2 separate regions of the Homo sapiens genome follow, and region 1 is linked to region 2. The links are contacts of gene promoters, found by promoter capture Hi-C in blood cells and fetal thymus (Javierre and others, 2016). All regions are on one chromosome and are shown on one strand. The core of a region is centred on a gene start or on the middle of the fragment in contact, and the rest is flanking DNA. Distances in the headings are between cores, read along the strand shown.

The links. Contacts are between HindIII fragments. The CHiCAGO score rates a contact against its expected background, and 5 or more counts as called.
Region 1: a fragment that was not itself captured here is called in contact with the fragment with the promoter of TBK1 in region 2 in 3 of 17 cell types (non-activated CD4 T cells, total CD8 T cells and neutrophils); the score reaches 9.4 in non-activated CD4 T cells.

What each region holds. Positions count from the first base shown.
Region 1 is chr12:64,791,294-64,795,154 of GRCh38, forward strand. It overlaps a transcript of TBC1D30 not described here. Among named protein-coding and RNA genes, the nearest start is that of TBC1D30, 31 kb to the right of the region's middle. The HindIII fragment of the contact is 2,809 bases long and covers 924-3,732 here.
Region 2 is chr12:64,450,581-64,454,071 of GRCh38, forward strand. It overlaps TBK1 (TANK binding kinase 1), which reads left to right and starts at 1,540. Exons shown (of 21, transcript NM_013254.4): 1 at 1,540-1,607. XPOT (exportin for tRNA) reads left to right here. Exons shown (of 25, transcript NM_007235.6): 25 at 1-545. RefSeq lists a silencer at 1,411-1,880. The HindIII fragment of the contact is 9,573 bases long and covers 78-3,491 here.

The sequences.
Region 1 (3,861 bases), core at 1,078-3,577, 340 kb after region 2:
ATAGGTTTCTTATTGGTGTGGTGAAAATGTTCTGGAATTAGTTAGTGGTGATGGTTGTACAATTTTATGGCATGTGAATTATATAAAATATGATAAAGTGTTAAAAATGTAATATACCCATGGAAGCTTTGGAAAATACAGAAATGTAAAAGGAAGAGAAAAAATTATTTTTTAAAGACAGTCCCTTAGAATATTCAAGTGATGTTTTGTTGTTGTTGTTGTTTTGGTTTTGGTTTTTTGAGACAGTGTCTTGTTGTGTCACCCAGGCTGGAATGCAGTGGTGTGATCACAGTTCATTGCAACCTATGCCTCCTGGGCCCAAGTGATTCTCCCACGGCCTCCCGAGTAGTTGGGACTGCGGGTGTGTGCCACCACACCTGGCTAATTTGTGTGTGTGTGTGTGTTTGTGTGTGTGTATATATATATATGTTTTTTTTAATATTTTTGTAGAGATGGAGGCATGGAGGGGGTGGTGGGGGAAGGTCTTGCTATACTACTCAGGCTGGTCTCAAACTCCTGAGCTCAAGTGATCCTCCTGCTTCAGCCTCCCAAAGTGCTGGGATTATAAGGCGTAAGCTAACGTACTTGGCCTGTAGGAAGGTTTTAAATTATCGATCCAGCTTTTAAAATAACTACAGGATTATTTGTATCTTCTGTTTCTTCTTGTGTCATCCCTGGTGTATTATACAGAATTTGCCATAACTTTTCACATTTGCAGGCATAAAATTATTAAGAATATTTTGGGTGTTCCTTTAGTTTTTCAAGATGTTAAAACAATTTCACTGATTTTAAACAGGAATTCACTTACTACTTAAAATATCTTTTATTATAGAATGTATCATAAACAAGAGAATGTAATACATATATGTATTTTTTAAAGAATAAGTAAACAAAGGTGTATACATGTGGATATTCACCTGTCAAGCTTGAGTAACAAATATCACTGGCATGTTAAAAGCTCCCTGTGTGCTCCTTCCTGGCTGAAATCTCTCTCCCCCACATTTGTGTTAACCATTACCTTGCTTTTCTTTATACTTTCTCCACTTCCTGTATAGGTTCCTAAGCAATATATGGTTCTGAAAAACAGAGTAGCAAGCCCAAGCCTTGTTATGTGGGGAAAGGGTAATGTTGCTATCTTAGATAAAACCTTTCAGAAGATAAACTATACTGTCTCTGGGTCCCAACCTGGTTTTAGGTTCCCTTCTGGGGAAGTCAAAGGGCAAGGTTATAAACGAGCCCTGTGACTTCTGCCAGGCTATGCTTTAGGCTAGTTATTATTTATTTATTTATTTTTGAGATGGAATCTTGCTGTGTTGCCCAGGCCGGAGTGCAGTGGTGCGATGTTGGCTCACTGCAACCTCTGTCTCCCGAGTTCAAGCGATTTTCTTGCTTCAGCCTCCCCAAGTAGCAGGGATTACAGGTGTGTGCCACCACACCCAGCTAATTTTTTTTTAATTTTTAGTAGAGATGGGGTTTCACCATGTTGGCCAGGCTGGTCTTAAACCCATGACCTCAAATGATGCACCTGCCTTGGCCTCCCAAAGTGCTGGGATTACAGGCATGAACTACTATGCCCAGCCTAGGCTAGTTATGGAATAATCAACTAGGTTGGGGGAGAGGCTTGCTTTTTGTTTTTGATTCAAAGCTCAGCAAGGCCTTTCCATGCTCTCCCCTCCATGCCCACAGAAGTATTGTGCTTTGGCCTACTTCTAGGAGCAGGAGCAAGGCCATGGTGAGCTTTGAATAAAAAATAAAGAGCAAGCTCGCTGGGTGTGGGGTCTCACACCTGTAATCCTATTACTTTGGGAGGCTGAAGCAGGAGGGATTGCTTGAGCTTGCGAGTGGGAGACCAGCCTAGGCAACATAGTAAGACCTCATCACTAAAAAAAATAAACAAAAATTCGCTGGGCGTTGTGGCATGCATCTGTAGTCCCAGCTACTCGGGAGGCTGAGGCATGATAATCACATGAGCCTGGGAAGCAGAGGTTGCAGTGAGCTGAGATTGTGCCACTACCCTCCCACCTGGGTGACAGAGTGAGATACTGACTCAAAAAATAAAAAATAAAAATAGGCAGGGCGCAATGGCTCATGCGTGTAATCCCAGCACTTTGGGAGGCTGAGGCAAGAGGATCATGAAGTCAGGAGTTCAAGACCATCCTGGCCAACATGGTGAAACCCCGTCTCTACCAAAAATACAAAAAAAAAAAAAAAAAAGAATTAGCTGGGCGTGGTGGCACGCACCTGTAATCCCAGCTACTCTGGAGGCTGAGGCAGGAGAATTGCTTAAAACCTGGGAGGCGGAGGTTGCAATGAGCCAAGATTGCACCACTGCACTCCAGCCTGGGCAACAGAGCAAGACTCCATCTCTAAAAAACAAAAACACAAATAAAAACCACAAGTACAGATGAAAATATGGATGAGTTCTCCTGGGCATTCTGTCCTTCAGTTAGAAAGATGGTCCGGCAGCAGGAAGCCTCTTGTGTTGACTTCCCTCACACGACTGTTGATTGAGCCACGCTGCTCCACTCCCTACTGGCTGGGCTCCATCTGCATGCACTGCCATCCTGGGAGCCTCATTGTGGAGGCTTTCTTTGTCTCTCTCCTGTGGTGGATCTCTTGTATCCTGGATCTTATATTTCTTTCTTGATTATTCTTTTTATTTTGTTTCCCATATCCCCTTGAGAGAGAGTGCTTGTGAAGTAAGTTTTTGGTAACTGTGCACGGGTGAAAATGTCAAATGTCTTGATTCTAAATATATGCGCTTTGATCGACTATTCTATACTTGCTGTATTGCCTTCTCACTTGTCTTGTTGCTCTTGAGAAGGCTGAAGCCTTTCTGATGCCTGACACTTTATCCTGGACTGTTTATTTTTTTTCCCTTTAAGAGCTTGTGGACTGTTCTCCTTGTTCTTGGTGTTCCTGAAATACAACAATCATGTTGCTTGGAGTGGGTCTGTTTTCACTCAGGTCATTGTCACTGGGCCTAGACAGGCTCTTTCAATCAGGCAACTTTTGTCATTCAGTTCTGGAAATTTTCTCTGAATTATTTCTTTGTTGATTTTTCTCCCTCCTTTTTCTTTTTTCTTTTTCCTCTTTCTGGGGTTCTATTGTTTGGCTGTTGGAACTTATAGACAAGTTCTGTAATGTTCTTTCTTTTTTTTTTGAGACAGGGTCTCGTCTGTTGCCCATGTTGGAGTGCAGTGGTGCAATCGTGGCTCACTGCAGCCTTGACCTCCTGGGGCTCAGGTGATCCTCCCATGTCAGCTTCCTGAGTAGCTGGGAGGTGCACACTACCACATCTGGCTAATTTTTGTATTTTTTGTAGAGATGGGGTTTCAACCACATTGCCCAGGCTGATCTCAAACTCCTGGGCTCAATCAAGTGATCCCCCTATCTCGGCCTCCCAAAGTGCCAGGATTACAGGTGTGAGCCACTGCACCTGGCTGTAACGTTTTCTCTCTTTCTCGCTTTCCAACTCCTTGTTCTTTTGATTTATTTCCTTGGAGATTACCTCAACTTTATTTTCCAGTCCTGTTATTGAGAAATCTTTTTGGGTTGCTATTTGAATGTTTCTTTTATATGGTATCCTGTTCTTGTTTCATAGATGCAATATATTTTCTTATTGCTCTAAAGATATTATGATAGAGACTAAAACAGACAAAAGAAAACAATTTGGAAGAGATAAGATTATACAGGGAGGAAAGAAACTTTCAAAACTGTATTATATTTAGAAGCTTTCCTTAGATGTCTGGTATTCTTTGGCTGTCTGCTCATAAGTAAGTGTGGGAGTCTAAATGCTGACTTGAACTCTGGGCTCCCTGGCAGGGCTTATTGACTTTGAGCTTCATTGAAGTGCCATGT
Region 2 (3,491 bases), core at 290-2,789:
ACTCTTCATGTTATATAATCATGCATAACTTCTATCTTCATTCTCTGAAGTTGCCTAGAGCACCATCACAGCTAGGAAGCTTCCATCATGAATTACCTTATTTCCAAAAGCAAGTACTCAAATAATTGTCTCAAGAGAGGAAGGACAAAACTGTTACAAGCTGAAATATTTGGGGATTTGTTTGACTTGACTAGGGAACCACAAGTTTTCATATAATGCCTGATTTAGCCCTGTGCCTAACAGTTTAAATCTTAATGCTAATGTTAATTGCTTCCCAGTTGGTTGACCTTATAAGAAAACACTGTGTGGTATTTTAATGTGGTAAACATGTGAATGAAGGCCTGTGGCTCAGTTAATCACTCCCACAACTTTGAGCTGTGAGTTTTACTGGTGGAAGGAACTTTAACAGGTCTTCGCTCTTGTCATTAGATATCAAAGAACTGAAATTAGTTGGAATTGTAAGCAGTGAATAGATGTGTTGTTAGAATGATTCCATCACTTATACATTGTTTAAAATGCTAATAAAGTAACTTGCTTTGTAAGAATTCATTAGAGTGGACTTTTGTTATCTCCATTGTGCATTTGATAAAACTGAGGCTTAGAGAGGTAAGAGATTAGCTTTTAAGTCAGTAATTGGCAGCCGAGACAGCAACCCTAGGTCTGTTACATTCAAAAGCCTCTGAGCCACTCCGCATGACTTCCCATTCATTCGTGTTTGCTGCTGCTACTCTGGGAAACACCATCTTCCTCTTCCCCTCCACTCAGAAATTTAGCCCTAGATTAGCAGCGGTCTCTGCTCCCTCATGTTGAGAAAGGCCTGTTGTGCTGTCCGTGGGCAGAAGGGACCCCTTCAGAAAGCTATTCCTTATTGGGAATAGCGGCTTGAGATTTTGACTGCACGAATATTGCAGGACCTAATTTTAGTATTTAAGTTTTAGTTCTTAAATTCTTAAGTTTAGAGTTAGATACTCCAATACGGCCGTTTTCCAAAATACCGAGAGGGAATTAAATGAACATTTTTACATTAAGAATTTAATGTATTTCTGGGTGATGGGAAAATGAAAAAAACAATGTAAAGTCTGAATTACTGCGAGACGATAATCTGGCTCCACTGCAGCCAAAGTGGGCCCTTAAAACATAGAATCCATCCCTCCCAGCTCTGCCGGCCGTCTGTGCCTGCCCCCCACGTGTCCCACGTTCTGCACACCTGTAAATCTTGGGATGTAATCCCTTGCTCAGCGTCGGTCCGCCCTACTGTCGGCCAGCGCTCGGGGAAGGGGCGGGATTTGCAGTTGCGGGAATCCCAATTACTGTGTTCGCTGCTCAGGGCTCCTCATTCCCCTTTAGAGTAAAGGGCGAGGGCAACAGTGGACGGGGTGTCTCCAGACATCCCCCTCATTACCGTGGCCGCGGAAGCCGACTCGGCAGTTGCCGCCGCGGCTGTGGTGACTACCAGACGGGCCATAGGCGTGCGCACGCGCACCCGCACCGGCGCGCCGGCCGTCGGTCACGTGGCCTCCGGCCAGGGCTTGCGAAGCCGGAAGTGTCCTGAGTCTCGAGGAGGCCGCGGGAGCCCGCCGGCGGTGGCGCGGCGGAGACCCGGCTGGGTAAGTGAGACGGCCGCGGGCTGAGGGGCCAAGGCGGCGCGGGGCGCGGTCGGTCAGGCCTGCGCCGCCCGGCGGGGAGCGCTCCCGCCCCCTGTGGGAGGCTGGGATGCTGAGTCAGAGCGGGGGCGGGGGCGGGCGCACCGAGAAGCCCCGGACGACCCGAGGCCAAGCCATCCAGGACCCCGGCTGCGTGGACACTGCCTCTGGGGTGTGTGTCGGGTGGCCGTAGCCGGTGGAATGGTCGCGCGGGCCCTGTTACCTGCATCCCCGCTCCGCGCCGCGCGGCCGGTCCTCGACCTGCATCCCGTCCGGCGGCTTTGGGCATAAAGAGGACGACTCCGTTACCGGGCCTGGGCCCTGGCTGCCTGGGGAGGCAGGGGCACCTCTTTCCCTTAGACTCGCTGTTTTCTACCCTCTTTCCGAGCGTCGACACAACGGGCAGTTTTTAAATGTATTGATTTTTCAGAGGATTAAAAAGAGACGTTTCCTTAGAGTTTTAGTGATGTTCAGTCCGCAGAGGTTGACTCACACCGGAAATTAGAAGCATAAGATGTTTTAAATATATGCCGATGAAATACGAATTCCCAGACATTTCCTTGCTCCTCGTCTACCTGGCTTATGGGTTTAATTTGTAATCTCTATCCCAAGTATTCTTAGTAGGTGGCCTCAAAACAACTCCCAAGTAATTGCCAAATGTATAACCAAAGACTGGTCTTTTCCACTCTGAAACCCCAGTGTATGAATCACATAGGGGCAGAGTTTAGAAATCCTGGAACTTTGTCCATAGGCCATGTCGTCAAACCTGTTTTCATCCCTCAACAAATAGTAACTTTCGTTTTGGACGGTGTAAGGAAGTAGGCTGAAGACGGCATCATCAGCAACATAGTTGTTGAGTGTCTGCTTATATGCTTGTCAAAAATTTGGGAAGATTTATATGGCAAGCACGTTGTGGGTGTGCTGAGTCATGTTTTAACATGTTATTGTGGAGTTATTGGAAGATAATTTCAAAAGACATTTCCCCTGACCACTATTGTGATTACTGTTAAATAGAAACCATAGTTTTGTATTTGCATAGAGAACAGATATCTTAGCTGATAAATATTTTTCTTATTATCCTGAAGGTACATACATATAGGTACCTAATGGTACTATTTGCCATTTACAGTTACATTGATTAGGGAAGGTTTTTCGTTAGATAGTTGAGACGTTTGTTATTGTATCGTGAGTGAAATGTAATGACTGGCAAATGTGTATTCCTTATTTGTGAAAAGGGAATCTTATTTTTATTGCTTATTTCCTATAGTCGTATATAAAGTTTATCTAAATTAGATGGGTAGTAAAATTATATAAAAATATCCTACTATATCAGTGATTGGTAAAATTGAGACCCCTGACCATTCTGCATTTTCCTAACCCAGCTTGGGGATATTGGTGGTCATTAATTCATCACAGAATACCTAGTCTAGCATACTACTTTTTGCTTTAACTTACTGTGGAGGGATATTAAAATCCATGTTTTAATGACAATACAGCAGGTTTAAGGGGGCATGGTGGGACTAGTGTTTATGTTATGTTAGCATACATCAATTTTAGTCCAGTGTGGAGCTTGGATACTTTGTATACCTTGATAGATCCATAGCTTTTCAGTATTAAAGACTTGATAATACAGGCTACTTGGTACGTTTATATATTTATACTTGGAGGTTGGAGAAACTATCCTTAAATTAATTCCAGAAGAGTTCGTAACTTTTCAGGAATAATAATTTTTGCACCTTTCCTTTATGTTTGTCAGGTTCTGTGTAGATTGTGTAGATAAAATTTTAGCTTATGGGAATATTATGCAGTGACAACATTTGTCTTCATTAGTGTTTCTCTGCTCTGAAG